6 separate regions of the Homo sapiens genome follow, and regions 2, 3, 4, 5 and 6 are each linked to region 1. The links are contacts of gene promoters, found by promoter capture Hi-C in blood cells and fetal thymus (Javierre and others, 2016). All regions are on one chromosome and are shown on one strand. The core of a region is centred on a gene start or on the middle of the fragment in contact, and the rest is flanking DNA. Distances in the headings are between cores, read along the strand shown.

Region 1 (2,700 bases), core at 39-2,538:
CCGCAGAGCCCGCAGCCGTGCAGAGCTGGCCAGCAGCGGGGGCGCAGCCCGCAGCCCACAGCCCGCGCAGGGCGGCGCCGCGCCGGGCAGCTACAGCCACTCCGGCGTGCGCTGCGGCACTGCGCTTGCGAGGCGCAGCTGCCGCAGAGGAGGTGCCGGGGTGTGCTGGTTGCCGCGGCAGCGCGGAGCGAGTGGGCACCGACTTTTAGAGCCCACCCGCGCCCCGCCCCTAGCCCGCCCATCGCCGCAGAACCCCTACCGCCTGCTCCCTTGCTCGCCGCAGAGCCCCTCCCAGCCGCTCTACCACCGCCATGGCCACAAAGATGGGGTGCCCCTCTAACAGTGGCTCCTTTAGGGGGCACCTTCAGGGGTGTCGAGCCCCCTCCCCAAGACCCCGCTGCTCCCTCGTTAACCGCCAACCCTGAGCCCGAGATTCTGCTGCAGAAACCCTCCCCTGATGAGTTAAGGCCACGGGCAAAAACAGCAGACCCCTGAGTGCCCCAACTCTTTCCTTAGACCACCCACAAACCCCACAGGCCGCCCACAAACCCCACAGGCTGCCCACAAGCCCCACAGGAGGATGGCCGCTCGAACTAAGGGGCAGCAGGGCTCTGGGGTGCCGGCCGTGGCGCCTGCTCCCATCCCTCGTTCGAAGCGTGGGTACTGAACCGTGAGAGGTGGCGAGCCACGAGGGCCCTATGCGCCCTAAGCTTAACTACCGGTAACCACCAAGGGCACGAGCAAGCGGCTAGGGAGCAACAAGCTCTGTTGGACCCACCACCAAGCTAGTAAACAGATTCATGGGATGGCCACTATGGCCAAAGTTGCACAAAGTCCGGTTTCTCCCGCTCCAGCCACCGCCGCTGCGCGGGGCAGGTTTCCTTTACAGCAGCGCGACGTGGTCAGCATGCCAGACGCCTGGCCACAGCAGCGCCCTCGCAGCCCCGCTCGCTGCATGCGCCGGTCCGCGCTGCACAGAACAGTGGGCACAATTAGGAGAGCAAAGCCCCCTTTATTTACGTAAGATAGAATCACAATGCAAGGGCCCAGAGGCACAAGAAAGAGGGAGGAATTTTTCTAATCCATAATCCTTTAAAAGGCATCCCTTACGCCTTTGAAAAGTGTAGAGTATCACGAAGTGTCTGTGTTCATTTTCTGACCGTAAACTGAAATACTGGTGAACAAACGTGGGGTGCGAGCGGGTGAGCGGGGCGGCCGGCCGGTGCCCGCTGCATCCAGAGGGGGCGCTGCAGGCCTCCCTTCGGCTGCGCACGGCCCGGGCCCTCCGCGGCTCTGCAACTCTGCACCCCGAAAGGTTCGGTGCTGGACCGCGGGGCATCCAACCCGGGACCGGGGGCGACCCACGGACACTGAGGAAACTACCGCCTATAAGCCTATCATCAGAACCTCTGGCACAACACAGGTACACTTCTGCAGGGGTCTGGTTGCCCCCAGAAAAAGCACTCATGAAACAAATGCTGATTTAGCACCTACAGGGCACTAAGAACCGGGGGTGCGAAATAAATGAGAAATAGCCCCGGCCCGAAAACAACACACGGGCCATCTGGAGGGGAAGACAGACAAGAACTGCCACTTTGTAAAATTTTCCTTTTAATTTCCTAGCGACGTTTGTGGCAGTTGACCCACTCCTCCCTAACGTGTAAGGCCCTCAGAGGCAGAGCCCAAGTATTATTCACCTTTTGTAGCCCCAGAGCCCGCCACGGTGCCGGCCACAAAGCTGGCCCCTAATAAATACTGCTTGAATGAGTACAAGAATTTGAGGGCGCACAGGGGAGGAAGTAATTAAGGGGAGGGGCGAAGGGTGGTCTTGAATGATGAATAGACATTTACCAGAGAGACAAAGAACATTCCAGCCGGAGGGGACGGCTTTCGCAAAGCACCGGAGGCTCAGGGCCGCGTGTTTGGGGAAAACGGTTAGTCCTTTGAGCCGGCAAAAAATTAGGATAGCAAGAGAATTTCATCGTAGGGAATTAGGAATTTGTTCTAGAGAAAATGAGAAGCCACAGATGGATTTAAACTCTTTATGGCCTTAATTGGTTACTTAACAAAATTTAAATTAGTCTCTTTACAAGTCAAAGATTACCTATTTTAACTACCACTACCTTTTAAAGACTGAATTACTCTGCAAAATCTAAATCGGTTCTTCCAAAAAGGTAAAGGCTTTCCTATTTTAATAATAACAATAACAAAAGCCTTTGCATTATATATTTTTCATATTTATTGTTAATGGAAACTTTGAGTCCTACAAACAAATTCCACACTTTCATTCTCACCAGGCCAGAAACACCAGCATCCAAGATGAAGGCAATTTTCTGTTTATGGACTGAGTACCCCACAAAAGATCTTATTCTGAAGGCCATGGAACATGTCTACCCACATGGATCAAGTGGGCAGACTGGAGGAGAAACAGTTTAAAGGCCCTGGGGGAAGGAGGGAGCGCCAGGGAGAGCTCCTGAAGACAACAGGAATTCCAAGTCTGGCACTCGGGAGAAATCCTCCCTTCAGACATTATTGATGTCTGGCCGAGGAGTTAGGAAAAACTTCCTTGAAGGAGGGATTGAGGTTGAGATGGGCATGGAACCCAGATCTTAGGCAGAGAAAGCATATTCCTGTTTGGAAGAACCCTGAGTACAGAAGTCAGCTCAAAGATATCAGCTTGGCCCAACCAGGAATTCGCTG
Region 2 (2,700 bases), core at 192-2,691, 260 kb before region 1:
TCTATGGCCTCCTAATGTCTCGACACCTCCCATGGGATATCCCACAACATCAATAATGGAACCAAATACAGAAATCACATAAACCTTACGGGAAGAGTGATAGCTCACAATGGTACACACTAGACTCAGGAAAAAGGATTATGAGCTATTACCAGGCAGTCCTGTTACGGAGCCAAGAGATATAGGAAGTGAGAAGGCTGGAAAACAAAGGGGAAAAGACATAGCAGCTAAAGCTGGTCTGAAGGCAGAGCTGTCCAGCCACCAGGCTGAACACCCATTATTATGTCCTCACACGTGACCGAGTGTTGTTTCAGGACTGCTTCGCTATGTCTGTCCTCCCTCCGCATGGCACCCTGATACTGTGAGCCTTCCAGTCGTTTTTCTTTTTAATAAAATGTTAAAACGAAATTGAGATCATGTCATACTTACAGTATACAACCTTGTTTTTGCTTTATAGTTTGTAACATTTGCAGGTCATTATATGTTTTCTACATTAGCAATTTCCTGGCTGTGTAGAGGTTCACTGTAAATAAATAGGTATCATAATATAATTCACCAGTTCCCTATTTGGAAGCATTTATATTGACTGTATTGCCTTCATAGTACATTATATCACTTATTCATATAAAAATAATTATATTTGTTCCATTTGATATTCTCATCCTGAATTCTATTTCATGTGATTTTAATATTAGCATGCATGGATGGGTTCTTTGGGTTGCATTTGCCTCTGATATTCTTGCCCATCTCATTACTTTTCTACCTTCTCTGTCAATTTCATTTTGCAGTTTCTCCTTTTGTAAACAGCTTACGACTAAATTGTATTTTTTTTACTCAATCTGAGTCTTTTGTGTTTTGAAAGATATTTTTAAGCCACATCTGTCATGACAAAAGTTATACTTGGTGTTTGTTCTGTCACTTTATTTTATGGTTTCTATTTGTAATACTTCCTGTTTCTTATTTCTTTTTTTACTGTAGTAATCAAATTTATTCTTTCTTCTCATTCATGATTTGGGAATTATATACCTTTTTGTTTTCTACTTGGGCTTAGTTAATTTAAAGTGTATAAATATGTTTGAATTATGCCTCTTTATTTCACTAACTTAAAAGCTTAGTAAAATACCAAGATATTTGTTAAGCAAAATAAAACAAAACATAAACACATTTGCATTTTTAAAGTTCCAGTAAGACCAAATTTTGTTGAGTTAAATGTGTACCTTTCCTTCATGATCCCCTACTTTAAGAACCACTGCCTGAGCTTTGATGTGTATCTACCCAGACCTTCTATGTGTGTGTATGTGTGTGTGCATGTAGATTTGTAATTTTTTTTAAATAGGACAATATGCATGTTTTCTTATTTGCTTTTTTCACTTAATAATGCATTTCATTATAAATAAATTTACACAGTACTCTATCAGTACTCACATATGTGTCATCCATCCTGTCACAGCAGCCCACCCTACGGACTCACTTCATTTATGTAACCATTCCTCTGCTGATAGATGTTTAATTTGGTCCCTATTTTTGACTACTATGATGTTCTAATAAAAAATCTTTTATATATATATTTGTGCACCTATGTGAGTATTTTATAGTATTAATACCTAGAAGTGAAATTGCTGAGTCAAAAAGTATGCACGTTTGGGTTTTTGATAGCTACTACCAAATTATCTTTCAAAAAGTTGTACAGATGTATACACTCCCAAAAACTCTACGGGACTGTTGCCTCACACCCTTCCTGGTGTTGGGTTTTAACAATCTTTAAAAGCTTTGCCTATCTGATGGTTGAAAATGATATTGTATCATTGCTTTCATTCACAGCTCACTGATGGAAAGTGAGGTTGTGAATCTCTTCCGAGCTACTGACTCTTTGGTTTCTGTGAACTCCCTATACTTACCCTGTACCTCATGTACTTTGCCCACTTGTCTTTTATAGTATTTACCTTTTTACATGTTAATTTGTAGGCACCCTTTGCATTATGGATGTTAGTCCTTTGTCTGTAATATTTGCTGAATATATATATTCACAAGCCGATGGCCTAATTTTTTGTTTAGGGTGACTTTTGTCCTATAAAAGTTTAATATTTTGTAGTCATCAGATCTGTAAGTCTTTTCCTTCACAGCGTCTGAGTTTTCACACCTTCCTATCCTACTGTGCAATTACCAAGATAGTCTACATTTTTTCACAGTAATTTTTAAATTCACATTTTGAAATTCATAAACAGCAAAATTCTCTCTTTGTGTACCACTCTATGAGTTTTTAACAAATTTATACAGTCATGTAAGCACCCCCTCAAACAAGATACTGAACAGTTCTGTAACCCTCCAAAATCATTCCTGCCCTTCCTCCCACAGCCAGCCTGTGGCAACGACGGATCTGTTTTTAAGGGATTCCTCATACAAATGGAACCATAAAGTAGGTAGCCTTTATCTGACTTTTTCTCCTGGCATAATGCAGATGAAGTCCATCCACACTGCTGTGTGTCTCACAGTCTGCCCCTTTTCATTGCTGATTATCATTCCATTGCATGAAGTGCCAGTGCGTTGGTCCGTTCACCAGCAGAACAACATCTGGGTTGTTTCTGGTTTTTGATTTTGGGCAATTATGAATAAAACCATCATGAACAGTCACATAAAGGTTTCTGGGTGAATATAAGTTTTCAGCTCTCTTGGCTAACTACCTAGGAGAGGGATTACTGG
Region 3 (2,700 bases), core at 13-2,512, 260 kb after region 1:
AAGAGAGCAGGAACAATGGAACAAAATGGAAGAAAGGAAAAGAATCAACATAGGCTACTTCAGACCCTTTCTGTATCTGAAGGGGTACAATCAGAGAAAAGAGACAAAAAGACGCTGACCCTAAGTGGCATTTCTCCAAGCCCTTTCGTCTCTTCCTCAATCCTCTGACCTGCCAGTCAGTCTTACTAACCCTGGCTGTAGACCCTTCCACTAGGACCTGGTTTTTATCTCTCCACTTCTCCTTTTGTGATTTACACTAATTAGTAGCAGAGTTAGCTCTCAGCCTGGTGTTCTCACTGCTAAATCAAGATTTGAACACGTGAAACTTCATGGTGACAGAGGGCCCTAATAAACAAAGACAATTAGAGACAACAGGCCCCTGCAATAAGGCGGCTTGAGGAACAGCTTGTGAAAAAGGCCGAGCTCAGAAGATGAAAGAACTGGAAAACAGTATTGCTCAGGATCATAAAATTTTTGTTTAAAAAAAGGATTTCATGCATTATCCCTTTGTGCACTGAGTGGAAATTTGCAATAAGAAATAACGAGAAAGGACAAGTATAATTTATTTATAATGCATCTTTCTCTTGCCAACTTCCCTGGGCCTCTCCAATAACTGCCAGTCTACATACAAAAAAGGTCAGCTTTCTATTTTCATCTGAGGTTTTGTTAAATTTAGATGGTAAGTGCAACTCTTCTTTACACCAAAAAGTGCCTATTATTTAAGATTCAGTTGGTATGTAATAGATATTTGGGGGGGAAAAAAGCATTTTCTTCCTTTTGTCTTCCTCTAATAGTATAGGAATGTATGGGCCTGATTTATATTTCCCCCACCCTCCCACCCACCTCTTTGACCTCTATCTTTTCCTGACAGATAGAGAATATCCAGGTGGCCTGGTACTTGGAAACTTGTCAGATGTTATTCAAAGCAATAAAAAACACATCATGCAAGTCTTCGGCATATTGTTACAAGGAAACCCTGTTTAGAATCCACTAATTGGGAATTTGTGATAATTTGAGGAAGGGTTTGCTGAAGTTAACCTTTGTACTATCTATGAAAAAAAAAGTTCACTGAAGTTCTGAATAGTAGTGTAAACAAGATTGGAAGGGGAATAATTATCTGCTTAAAAGAACCAGTTGTTTTGAAAAGCTTTAGAAGTATTCTTTTACATACAAACAGGGTAATTATGATTTAAACAAAGGCTGGCCTGTTTCTTAGGCTTCTTTGAAATGTCAATTACAAATAACTCTTGTCTATTCACCAAGCCAAAACCCACCCCTGTGTACCAGGCAACAGTTGGTTAGCTTGCTTCCACTTTTTGTATTTGAAAATAATAAACCTGAAGTTCTTTTAAAGTAGTATAATTTAATTCAAGCTTTTCACTAATTGAGACGGTCCATCCTATAGTGTGGGTGAGGATTTACTAATTCCTAGCAGACAATTGGGAAAGCATGGAGTGATAGTGCCTTCACTAATTTAGTGGTATTGCTAGATGATACAGGAAAATCTACAAAGAAAACTACTCTAGAGCAGTGACTTTTGTTTTTATCTTTTTTTTTTCTATTTTTAAATATTTTTCTAGAGACAGGGGTCTCACTATGTTGCCCAGGCTGGTCTCTAATTCCTGGGCTCAAGTGATCCTCCTGCCTCAGCTTCCTAAAATGCTGAGATTATAGGTGTGAGCCACTGTGCTCAGCCCTTTTCTCTTATCACACATAATAAGAAATACATTTTACATTGCAATTCAGTACACACACACTTAATAATACTTACCCTTGTTATGTGTGATATGCTATTACTTTCTATTATTTTTATTTATTTATTTTTTTTAGACAGAGTCTTGCTCTGTTGCCCAGGCTGGAGTGCAATGGCATGATCTCAGCTCACTGCAACCTCTGCCTCTCAAGTTCAAATGATTCTCCTGCCTCAGCCTCCCAAGCAACTGGGATTACAGGCGTGTGCCACCATGTCCGGCTAATTTTTGTATTTTTAATAGAGACAGAGTTTCGCCATGTTGGCCAGGTTGGTCTCGAACTTCTGGCCTCAAGTAATCCGCCCACCTTGGCCTCCCAAAGTGTTGGGATTATAGGCGTAAGCCACCACACCCAACCAACTTTCTGTTTATTATTTAATAAATGCGAATCATGACCCACTAAATTTATTTCACAATCTGCTAATGGGTTGTCATTTTCAAAGTACTACTTCTAGAATGTGTTGGAAGATAGCACTCCTTCATTAGATAAAGGAGTGGCACTGGGGAAGAGTCGTAGTTGCTATCAGGTTTTCTTGATGGTGTTCAGCTTGGTGTAGAGCCCACACCAGACTCTGCACAAAAGCAACATCCAGCCATGACTAGTGTCTGCAGTCCCACTTTCATAACCGTCTCTTCTCACCAGATCTGTACCTGACCATGGTTTTGCTCCTCTTTCTATGGTTCACCATGTCCTGGGATGATGGAGCAAGGTAGCCCACTCACATCAGAGTTCTTACTCCCCATGCGGTCTGAACCCAGATCCCCTCCTCCTTTTCCTCCACTCAAACCCTTGGCCATCAACCTCACTGTTTTAGTTCCTACTGTCCCTTGTTTCTCAACAGTCAGTGCAAAGTTCATTTCTATCCTCACCAGCTAAGTCTCCATTTCTCCCTTTTTGTCTTAAGCTGGCCAGGCTTAACCCCTGCAGAGGAGGCAAGCTGATGTCATA
Region 4 (2,700 bases), core at 78-2,577, 300 kb after region 1:
TCACTGTCACACTTCTTGATGGTATTCTTAAATACTTTATCTTACTAATTTTTATCTGCTTTATCTATTGGTTATTAAGAAAGTGTGCCAAAAGCTCCCGTTGATTGTCTTCCATTAAATGTTTTCTTGCAATTCTGTCAGATTTGCTAAGTATACATACGAGATTACGTTAAATGCATGTAAATTCAGAATTGTGAATATCATTCTGGTGAATTATGCCACTTATCTTTATCTCTTAGGCTTTTTGCCTTAAAGTCTATTTTGTCTGACATTGACACATCTATATTAATTTCCTTTTGGTTAGTATCTGGCTGGTATATCTATCTCTATCCCTATACTTTTAGCCCTTCTATACCCATGGGTTTTCGAAAATTAAGTATTTTGTGCAAATTAATAAATGATTAATAAGTATTTTGTGGGAAGCTACTGATCTAAAACTATATAGTTATTTGGTCCCCATCAAACTTTTTTTTTTTTTTTGAGACTAGGTCTCACTGTTGCAGTGGTGCAGTCTTGGCTCGCTGCAGCCTTGAATTCAGCGCTCAGGTGCCTCTCCCACCTCAGCCTCCTGAGTAGCTGGGACTACAGATGCATGCCACCATGCCATGCTAATTTTTGTGTTTTTAGTAGAGACCGGGTTTTGCCATGTTGCCCAGGCTGGTCTCGAACTCCTGAGCTCACACAATCCACCCACTTTGGCCTCCAAAAGTGCTGGGATTATAGGCGTAAGCCATTGTGCCTGACCCCATCAAACTTTGACTTACTAGTTCTAACATCCTTTTAAGATTATTTTCAAAATTATTACTATGTTGGTTGTCATGGAGCTTTCCAATTTCATCATTTCTTCTATGTTTATTCCTTTAACATTTTTCCTTTTTTTTTTTTACTGTAATACAGTATACATAAAATTTACAATATTAGCCTTTTTTTTTTCTTTTTTTGAGATGGAGTCTTGGCTCTGTCGCCCAGGCTGGAGTGCAGTGGTGCGATCTCGGCTTACTGCAACTTCTGCCTCCCAGGTTCAAGCGATTCTCCTGCCTCAGCTTTCCAAGTAGCTAGGATTACAGGCATCTGCCACCATGCCTGGCTAATTTTTGTATTTTTAGTAGAGACAGGGTTTCCCCTTGTTGGCCAGGCTGGTCTCAAACTCCTGACCTCAGGTGATCTGCCCGCCTCGGCCTCCAAAGTGCTGGGAATTACAGCCGTGAGCCACCGCGCCTGGCCCAATATTAGCCATTTGAAGTGTTTAATTAAGTGGTGGTAAGTACATTTACATTATTGTGCAGCTGCCTTTTACATTTATTTGTTGGTATTCTGTAAGATAAAGGTTTCTTCTCCCTAATCATTCACTTATGTTGACGATTTGATTGTCTCAGATTGGGCTAGTGGGATCCTCTGTAAGCTGACTTCTCTGTTCTTTTGACATGACACTATCATTCTTTGAGCTAATCCCCCTGCCCGCGCCACCTTTCTAGCACCACAAAATAGGTCAGGCTCATTTTGTGTTTTCCCTGGCTAGCTCCAGAGTCAGTCTGTTTCTCTAAGAGCCCTGATTCCTTTTAATGGAGAATGATACTTAGAAATTATTATCTGGGCACTGGGCACACTGTTATTATTGAGGTATCATTACTCCAGGTCCTCTAGGAAATATTTGTATGGACATATACACAGATATATGTACACACACACATCTATATGTGTTATTCTATGTTTTTAAAAAACCATGAGTTTATAATGTTACTTCTAGTTCCAGTCCAGCTATACAGTTTATTCTGTCCTCCCCACTTTTCGTATTTGTAACTTTCTCCAGTAGTGAAAAACCAGGCCCTCATATTCTCTCTCTCATGCACACTTTTTTGCTGAATCATTTGAAAGGAAGTTGCGGGCATCATTCCACTTCATTCCTGAATATTTCACATGCATCTCCTAAGACCAAGACATCTTCCTTTATAACTACAATATGGGCTGGGCTCAGTGGCTCACGCTTGTAATCCCAGCACTTTGGGAGGCTGAGGCAGGTGGATCATGAGGTCAGGATTTTGAGACCAGGTCAGGATTTTCTGACCAACATGGTGAAACCCCACCTCTACTAAAAAATTAGCGAGGCTTGGTGACGCGAGCCTGTATCCCAGCCACTCTGGAGGCTGGGGCAGGAGAATCGCTTGAATCCGGGAGGCGGAGGTTGCAGTGAACCGAGATCACACCACTGCACTCCAGCCTGGGTGACAGAGTGAGACTCTGTCTCAAAGAAAAAATAAATAAATGAATAATGACAATATGATTGTCATGCTTAAGATACTATGGGTGTTCATATTCACATTTCCCCAGTTGACCCAATACTGACCCTTGTAGTGCTTTTTTTTTCTTTTATTGATGCAGGATCCAATCAGGTATCACATATTGCATTTACTTGTGCTTCTGTTGTCTCCTTAAATCGAAACCATTTGGATAGTGTGGGTTTTGTGGGATTTTTTGTTTTGTTTTCTTTTATGACATTTACATTTTGAAGAGATGAGGCTGTTGTTTTGAAAATTCAGATTTGTTTGATCATTTTGTTACTGTTAGATTCCGTTTAAATATTATTTTCTGGCAAGAATACAACATGGGTGGTGGCATGTCCTTTTCAGTGTATCACATCAGGAGATACGTGATGCTGCTTTGTCTCTTTGTCGGTAATATATAATAAAATAGGATCACTTG
Region 5 (2,700 bases), core at 57-2,556, 280 kb after region 1:
GTTTTCTGGGTTACAGCAATCATTCTCCAAAAATCTTGAAAGCGGAGTTCACTTTTAAGATACCACTTTCTGGCCAGACACGGTGGCTCATGCCTGTAATCCCAGCACTTTGGGAGGCTGAGGCGGGCAGATCACAAGGTCAGGAGATCGAGACCATCCTGGCTAACACGGTGAAACCCTGTCTCTACTTAAAATACAAAAAAAATTAGCCGGGTGTGGTGGTGGGTGCCTGTAGTCCCAGCTACTCAGGAGGCTGAGGCAGGAGAATGGTGTGAACCTGAGAGGCGGAGCTTGCAGTGAGCAGAGATTGCACCACTGCACTCCAGCTTGGGTGACAGCGAGACTCTGTCTCAAAAAAAAAAAAAAAAAGATACCACTTTATAAAAAATGCTTTTGGAAGAGGCTTAAATATTTTAAATTTAATATGTATCACTTAGGTTATAGAAAAGGAAAAAAATAAATTTAATATATGTAAAGAAAATCAAAATAATTGGAAGTTTATAAACCTAAAAGTTAACAGTAGTTGGTTATTTCTACATAATCTGGAGTGATTTTTATTTTATTTTGTCTTCTGCCCTATAATTTCCACATTTTCTATATAATGTGTACTTTTGTAATAGACAGGAGAAGGTATTTAAAAACACTTATTAGGCTTATATCATTTCCACAGAAAGCTCTCACATTTGATGTCAAATCAAAACATAGCCACAAAATCAAAAGAAAGATTTTGCATTAAACTAAGTGGGATCATATGAACTGTGGTTACGAAAAGCATTTTATTAACTGTCTTTGTGACTCAGTGAGTGAAAACAGCAGGAGTGCCTGCCCTGAGGGGCAGAGTAGAAAATGTGGGCCGTGGCTCTCTTTCTGCCACTAACAACTCTTGATTTTTCCAAGCCACTTAACACCTCTTAAGCTCAGTTTCCACATAAGCAAAATAAGGTGTTTGGATTACCATTGTCCAGAAAAATACCAGCACTAGCAATCTGAATAAACACAAAATAAAAATATAAACTAAATATAGTATTTATAGTCTGAAAGCAAAAGGGTAAATGCCACTTTAAAAAGTGGCAAATTCAGAGGAAATCAGCGTGCTTCATGTTGGAGGATAATTACCACCACATTTCCATCGTGCTTTTACCATTACTTCAAGGTTTGTAAATAAAGCCTCATAGTTTAGCAGAGAAAATGAAGAAGTTCAAAGTGAAGGAAAAATTCCATCCTCCTTTACTAGCTCTCATATTGTTCTCAGATTTCAAATCTGGGACCCTTCAGAAGAAGCAGTCTAGCTGATTGTAGCTGCCACAAGGGTACAAAGTGAAAAACGAAACCTCTAAAATAATTAAGGTTTTAATCAGGACTGAGTAGATCTAAGTGGACATTTCAAACTATGCTTTGAAGCAAACAAATAATTTGACAGGAAATCTGGGTATATTCCCCTTCTGTCACTAACACTTTTGTGACATTGGACAAGTCACTTAATTTACTTGGGGCTTATCAATAAAAAAATGAGTGGGGGAGGGATAATGATAACTTACTTGCCTACAAACAGAAGGCTGGACCACATGCTCTCTTGAGGTCCTGGAAGCTCAAGGCTGTATGACTCCCAAGAGCTGATGCAAGCAAGGGAGCAGAAAAAATAGCTTAGACTGGGCCAGGCGTGGTGGCTCACGCCTGTAATGCCAGCACTTTGGGAGGCCGAGGCGGGTGGATCACGAGGTCAGGAGTTCGACACCAGCCTGGCCAACATGGTGAAACTCCATCTCTACTAAAAATACAAAAATTAGCTGCGCGTGGAGATGCACGCCTATAATCCCAGCTACTCAGGAGGCTGAGGCAGGAGAATCACTGGAACCCAGGAGGCTGAGGTTGCAGTGAGCCAAGATCGTGCCATTGCACTCCAGCCTGGGCAACAGGGCGAGACTCCGTCTCAAAAAATAAAAATAAAAAAAATAGCTTAGACCTCTTAATTCATGATGAAATTTTTTTGGTAATTTTCTAAAGTAGCTTTGCTTGCCAGGCCAAATTCAATATACTTAGCTAGGGAGTCTAAGACACATATAAGCTATCATTATTCTAAATCTCCTTTTGGCAAAGTATTTACCTTAAGAAGCATTTAGACTTTAGATGAAAGTTCTTCACCAGGAGGTGGTGGTTATCAAAGAGTCTTTGATTAGAATGGAATCCAGCTGGCATGGACATAACAAACCTTCTCCACCCCATCCGAGCTCATAGAGCATTAAGTCTTACCACTGCCAGCCCAGGCCTATGGCTATAATGCTAAATGATGGTGGTTTTCTTAATCATCAGCCTGGTATTAATGGCCAGCAAGGATATCATGTCAGCAAATTATAAGAGCTTGGTTACGGCTGGGCGCGGTGGCTCATGCCTGTAATCCCAGCACTTTGGGAGGCCAAAGCGGGCAGACTACTTGAGGTCAGGAGTTTGAGACCAGCCTGGCCAACATGGTGAAACCCCATCTGTACTAAAAATACAGAAGTTAGCAGAGCGTGGTGGCTTGCGCCTGTGGTCCCAGCTACAAGGGAGGCTGAGGCAGGAGAGTCACTTGAATCCGGGAGGCGGAGGTTGTAGTGAGCCAAGATTGCACCACTTCACTCCAGCCTGGGTGACAGAGCAAGACTCCATCTCAAGAAAAAAAAAAAAGAGCTTGGTTACTCATAATATGTTGGAAGCATCACA
Region 6 (2,700 bases), core at 42-2,541, 280 kb before region 1:
GTTTAAACTTTGTCTTAATTTTTCTTATCTCCAAAATGTGGTGTATTAGTCCATTTTCAAGCTGCTGAAAAAACTGCACAATTTACAAAAGAAAGAGGTTTAATTGGACTTACAGTTCCATGTGGCTGCGGAAGCCTCACAATCATAGCACAAGGCAAGGGGGAGCAAGTCACATCTTACATGGATGGCAGCAAGCAAAGAGAGAGCTTGTGCAGGGAAACTTCCATTTTTTCAAAACCATCAGATCTCGTGAGACTCATTCACTATGACAAGAACAGCGCAGGAATGACCCATCCCCATAATTCAATCAACTCCCACCAGGTTCCTCCCACGACATGTGGGAATTGTGGGAGCTACAATTCAAGATGAGATTTGGGTGGGGACACAGGCAAACCATATCATGTGGATACTAAAAGAACCTACCTTATGGAATTTTTATGAGGATTTAATTATGTAACAAACAGAGGCAGTACATAGAAATCTCTCAATTCTATGTATATGACATATCATCATATGTCAATATGAACTATTAGAGTTAAAAATTTAAAACATAATATCATTTACATTAGTACCAAAAAGCAATGAAACACATAGGTATAAATTTAACAAAATTTTTACAAGATCTTTGTGAGACAAATTACAAAACTGTGGTGAAAGAAATTAAAGAAGATCTAAATAAATGGAGAGAGAGTCTATGTTTATGGATAAGAAGACAATATTTTTAAGATGCCAGTTCTTCTCAACTTAATATATAGATTCAATGCAATCTTGATCAAAATCCAAGCCAGTTATTTTGTGTACATTGATAAACTGATTCTAAAGTTTATATGAAAGGCAAAAGATCCAAAATACTCAGAAAATACTAAAGAAGAACAAAATCAAAGGACTGACACAACCTGACCCCACGACCTACTATAAAGCTTACAGTAATCAAGATAATGGGGTATTAGTGAAGGAAAAGACAAATAGGACAGGTGTGGTGGCTCATGCCCATAATCCCTGCATTTTGGAAGGCCAAGGTGGGTGGATCACTTGAGCCCAGGAGTTCAAGACCAGTCTGGCAACATGGTGAGACCCCATCCCTCATATCTACAAAAAATACAAAAATTAGCCAGGTTTGGTGGCACATGCCTGTGGTCCCAGCTACTCAGGAGGCTGAGGTGGGGAAACCACCTCAGTCTGGGGAGGTCAAGTTTGCAGTGAGCTGGGATCACACCACTGGGCAACAGAGACCCAGTCTCAAAAAACAAAACAAAAGCAAAGAATAGACAAATAGATCAGTAGAACAGATGGAGAGCTCAGAGATAGACCCATACAAATATAGTCAACTGATGTCTGACAAATGAGTTAAGGCAATTCAATGGAAAAAGAATGGTGTTTTCACCGAATGGTGCTGAAGCAAGTGGGCATCCACATGCAGGAAAAAAAAAATGAAAGAAAGAAAGAATCTAGATACAGACCTTACATCTTTCATAAAAATTAACTCAAAATGGATCATAGCTCTATGTAAAACAGAAAGCTATAAAACTGCCTGAAATATTTAACATAGTGGAAAATGTAGATGACCCTGGGTTTGGCAATGAGTTTTTAGATAGAACACCAAAACCGCAATTCATGAAATAAAAAATTGACAGCTTGAACTTCATTAAAATTAAAGCTTTTTGCTCTGTGACATACATTGTTAAGAGAATGCAAAGGCAAGCCACACACTGGAAGAAAATATTTGTGAAACACACATTTGATAGAACACATATCCAAAATAGACAAATAATTCTTAAAACTCAGTAATACGTGGCCGGGCACAGTGGCTCACGCCTGTAATCCCAGCACTTTGGGAGGCCGAGGCAGGCAAATCACAAGGTCAGGAGATCGAGACCATCCTGGCTAACACAGTGAAACCCGTTCTCTACTAAAAATACAAAAAAATTAGCCAGGCATGGTGGTGGGCGCCTGTAGTCCTAGCTACTCCGGAGGCTGAGGCAGGAGAATGGCGTGAACCCGGGAGGCGGAGCTCGCAGTGAGCCAAGACTGCAACACTGCACTCCAGCCTGGGTGACAGAACGAGATTCTGTCTCAAAACAAAACAAAACTCAGTAATAAGTAAACAAACAATCTAATTTTAAAACAGGCAAAAGATCAGAACAGATGTCTCACCAGAGAATATATGGCAACAAATAAGCATATGAAAACAAAATAAATTGTCATTAGGTAATTGCAAATTAGGATAACAATGAGATACTGCTACACTATTAAAATGGCTAAAATCCAAAATTCTGAAAATATCAAATGATGATGAGGATGTGGAGCAAGATGTGGAGCAACAGGAACTCCCAGTCATTGCTGACGGGAATGCAAACTGTTACAGCCACTTTGGAAGACAGTTTGGCAATTTCATACAAACGTAAATATAGTTTTACATTACAATACAGCATCTGTGCTCCTAGGTATTTACCCAATTAAGTTGAAAACTTATGTGCACACAGAAACCTGTAAATGAACGTTTATAGCAGCTTTATTCATACTTTCCAGAAACTGGAAGCAACCAAGATTCCCTTAAATAAGTGGATGGATAAACAAACTGTTGTATATCCATACAATGGACTATTATTCAGTGATAAAAGAAAATGAGCTATTAAACCATAAAAAGACATGAAAGAACTTTAAATACATATTGGTAAGTAAAAAAAAGCAGTCTAAAAA

What was found. The method cuts DNA at HindIII sites, captures the fragments that hold promoters and counts their contacts. A CHiCAGO score of 5 or more calls a contact.
Region 2: a fragment that was not itself captured here is called in contact with the fragment with the promoter of MESTIT1 in region 1 in 2 of 17 cell types (endothelial precursors and erythroblasts); the score reaches 6.4 in endothelial precursors.
Region 3: a contact is called between a fragment that was not itself captured here and the fragment with the promoter of MESTIT1 in region 1, in 10 of 17 cell types (megakaryocytes, naive CD8 T cells, M1 macrophages and 7 more). The highest score is 14.5, in megakaryocytes.
Region 4: a contact is called between a fragment that was not itself captured here and the fragment with the promoter of MESTIT1 in region 1, in 1 of 17 cell types (megakaryocytes). The highest score is 6.7, in megakaryocytes.
Region 5: a contact is called between a fragment that was not itself captured here and the fragment with the promoter of MESTIT1 in region 1, in 9 of 17 cell types (megakaryocytes, fetal thymus, naive CD8 T cells and 6 more). The highest score is 11.6, in megakaryocytes.
Region 6: a fragment that was not itself captured here is called in contact with the fragment with the promoter of MESTIT1 in region 1 in 1 of 17 cell types (endothelial precursors); the score reaches 6.5 in endothelial precursors.

The regions. Positions count from the first base shown.
Region 1 is chr7:130,489,565-130,492,264 of GRCh38, reverse strand. It overlaps MESTIT1 (MEST intronic transcript 1, antisense RNA), which reads left to right and starts at 1,288. Exons shown (of 2, transcript NR_004382.2): 1 at 1,288-1,423; 2 at 2,298-2,700. It overlaps MEST (mesoderm specific transcript), which reads right to left and starts at 180. Exons shown (of 12, transcript NM_002402.4): 1 at 1-180. RefSeq lists a silencer at 1,143-1,352. The HindIII fragment of the contact is 7,997 bases long and covers 713-2,700 here.
Region 2 is chr7:130,750,185-130,752,884 of GRCh38, reverse strand. The region is part of intron 3 of LOC105375508 (a long non-coding RNA gene); the gene reads right to left. Among named protein-coding and RNA genes, the nearest start is that of KLF14, 17 kb to the right of the region's middle. The HindIII fragment of the contact is 658 bases long and covers 1,113-1,770 here.
Region 3 is chr7:130,226,566-130,229,265 of GRCh38, reverse strand. No RefSeq gene overlaps it. Among named protein-coding and RNA genes, the nearest start is that of SSMEM1, 20 kb to the right of the region's middle. The HindIII fragment of the contact is 226 bases long and covers 1,150-1,375 here.
Region 4 is chr7:130,188,760-130,191,459 of GRCh38, reverse strand. The region is part of intron 6 of TMEM209 (transmembrane protein 209); the gene reads left to right. Among named protein-coding and RNA genes, the nearest start is that of TMEM209, 15 kb to the left of the region's middle. The HindIII fragment of the contact is 4,523 bases long and covers 1-2,700 here.
Region 5 is chr7:130,208,830-130,211,529 of GRCh38, reverse strand. The region is part of intron 1 of SSMEM1 (serine rich single-pass membrane protein 1); the gene reads right to left. Among named protein-coding and RNA genes, the nearest start is that of SSMEM1, 2.3 kb to the right of the region's middle. The HindIII fragment of the contact is 3,567 bases long and covers 1-2,700 here.
Region 6 is chr7:130,770,144-130,772,843 of GRCh38, reverse strand. All of the region lies in intron 3 of LOC105375508 (a long non-coding RNA gene), which reads right to left. Among named protein-coding and RNA genes, the nearest start is that of KLF14, 37 kb to the right of the region's middle. The HindIII fragment of the contact is 737 bases long and covers 923-1,659 here.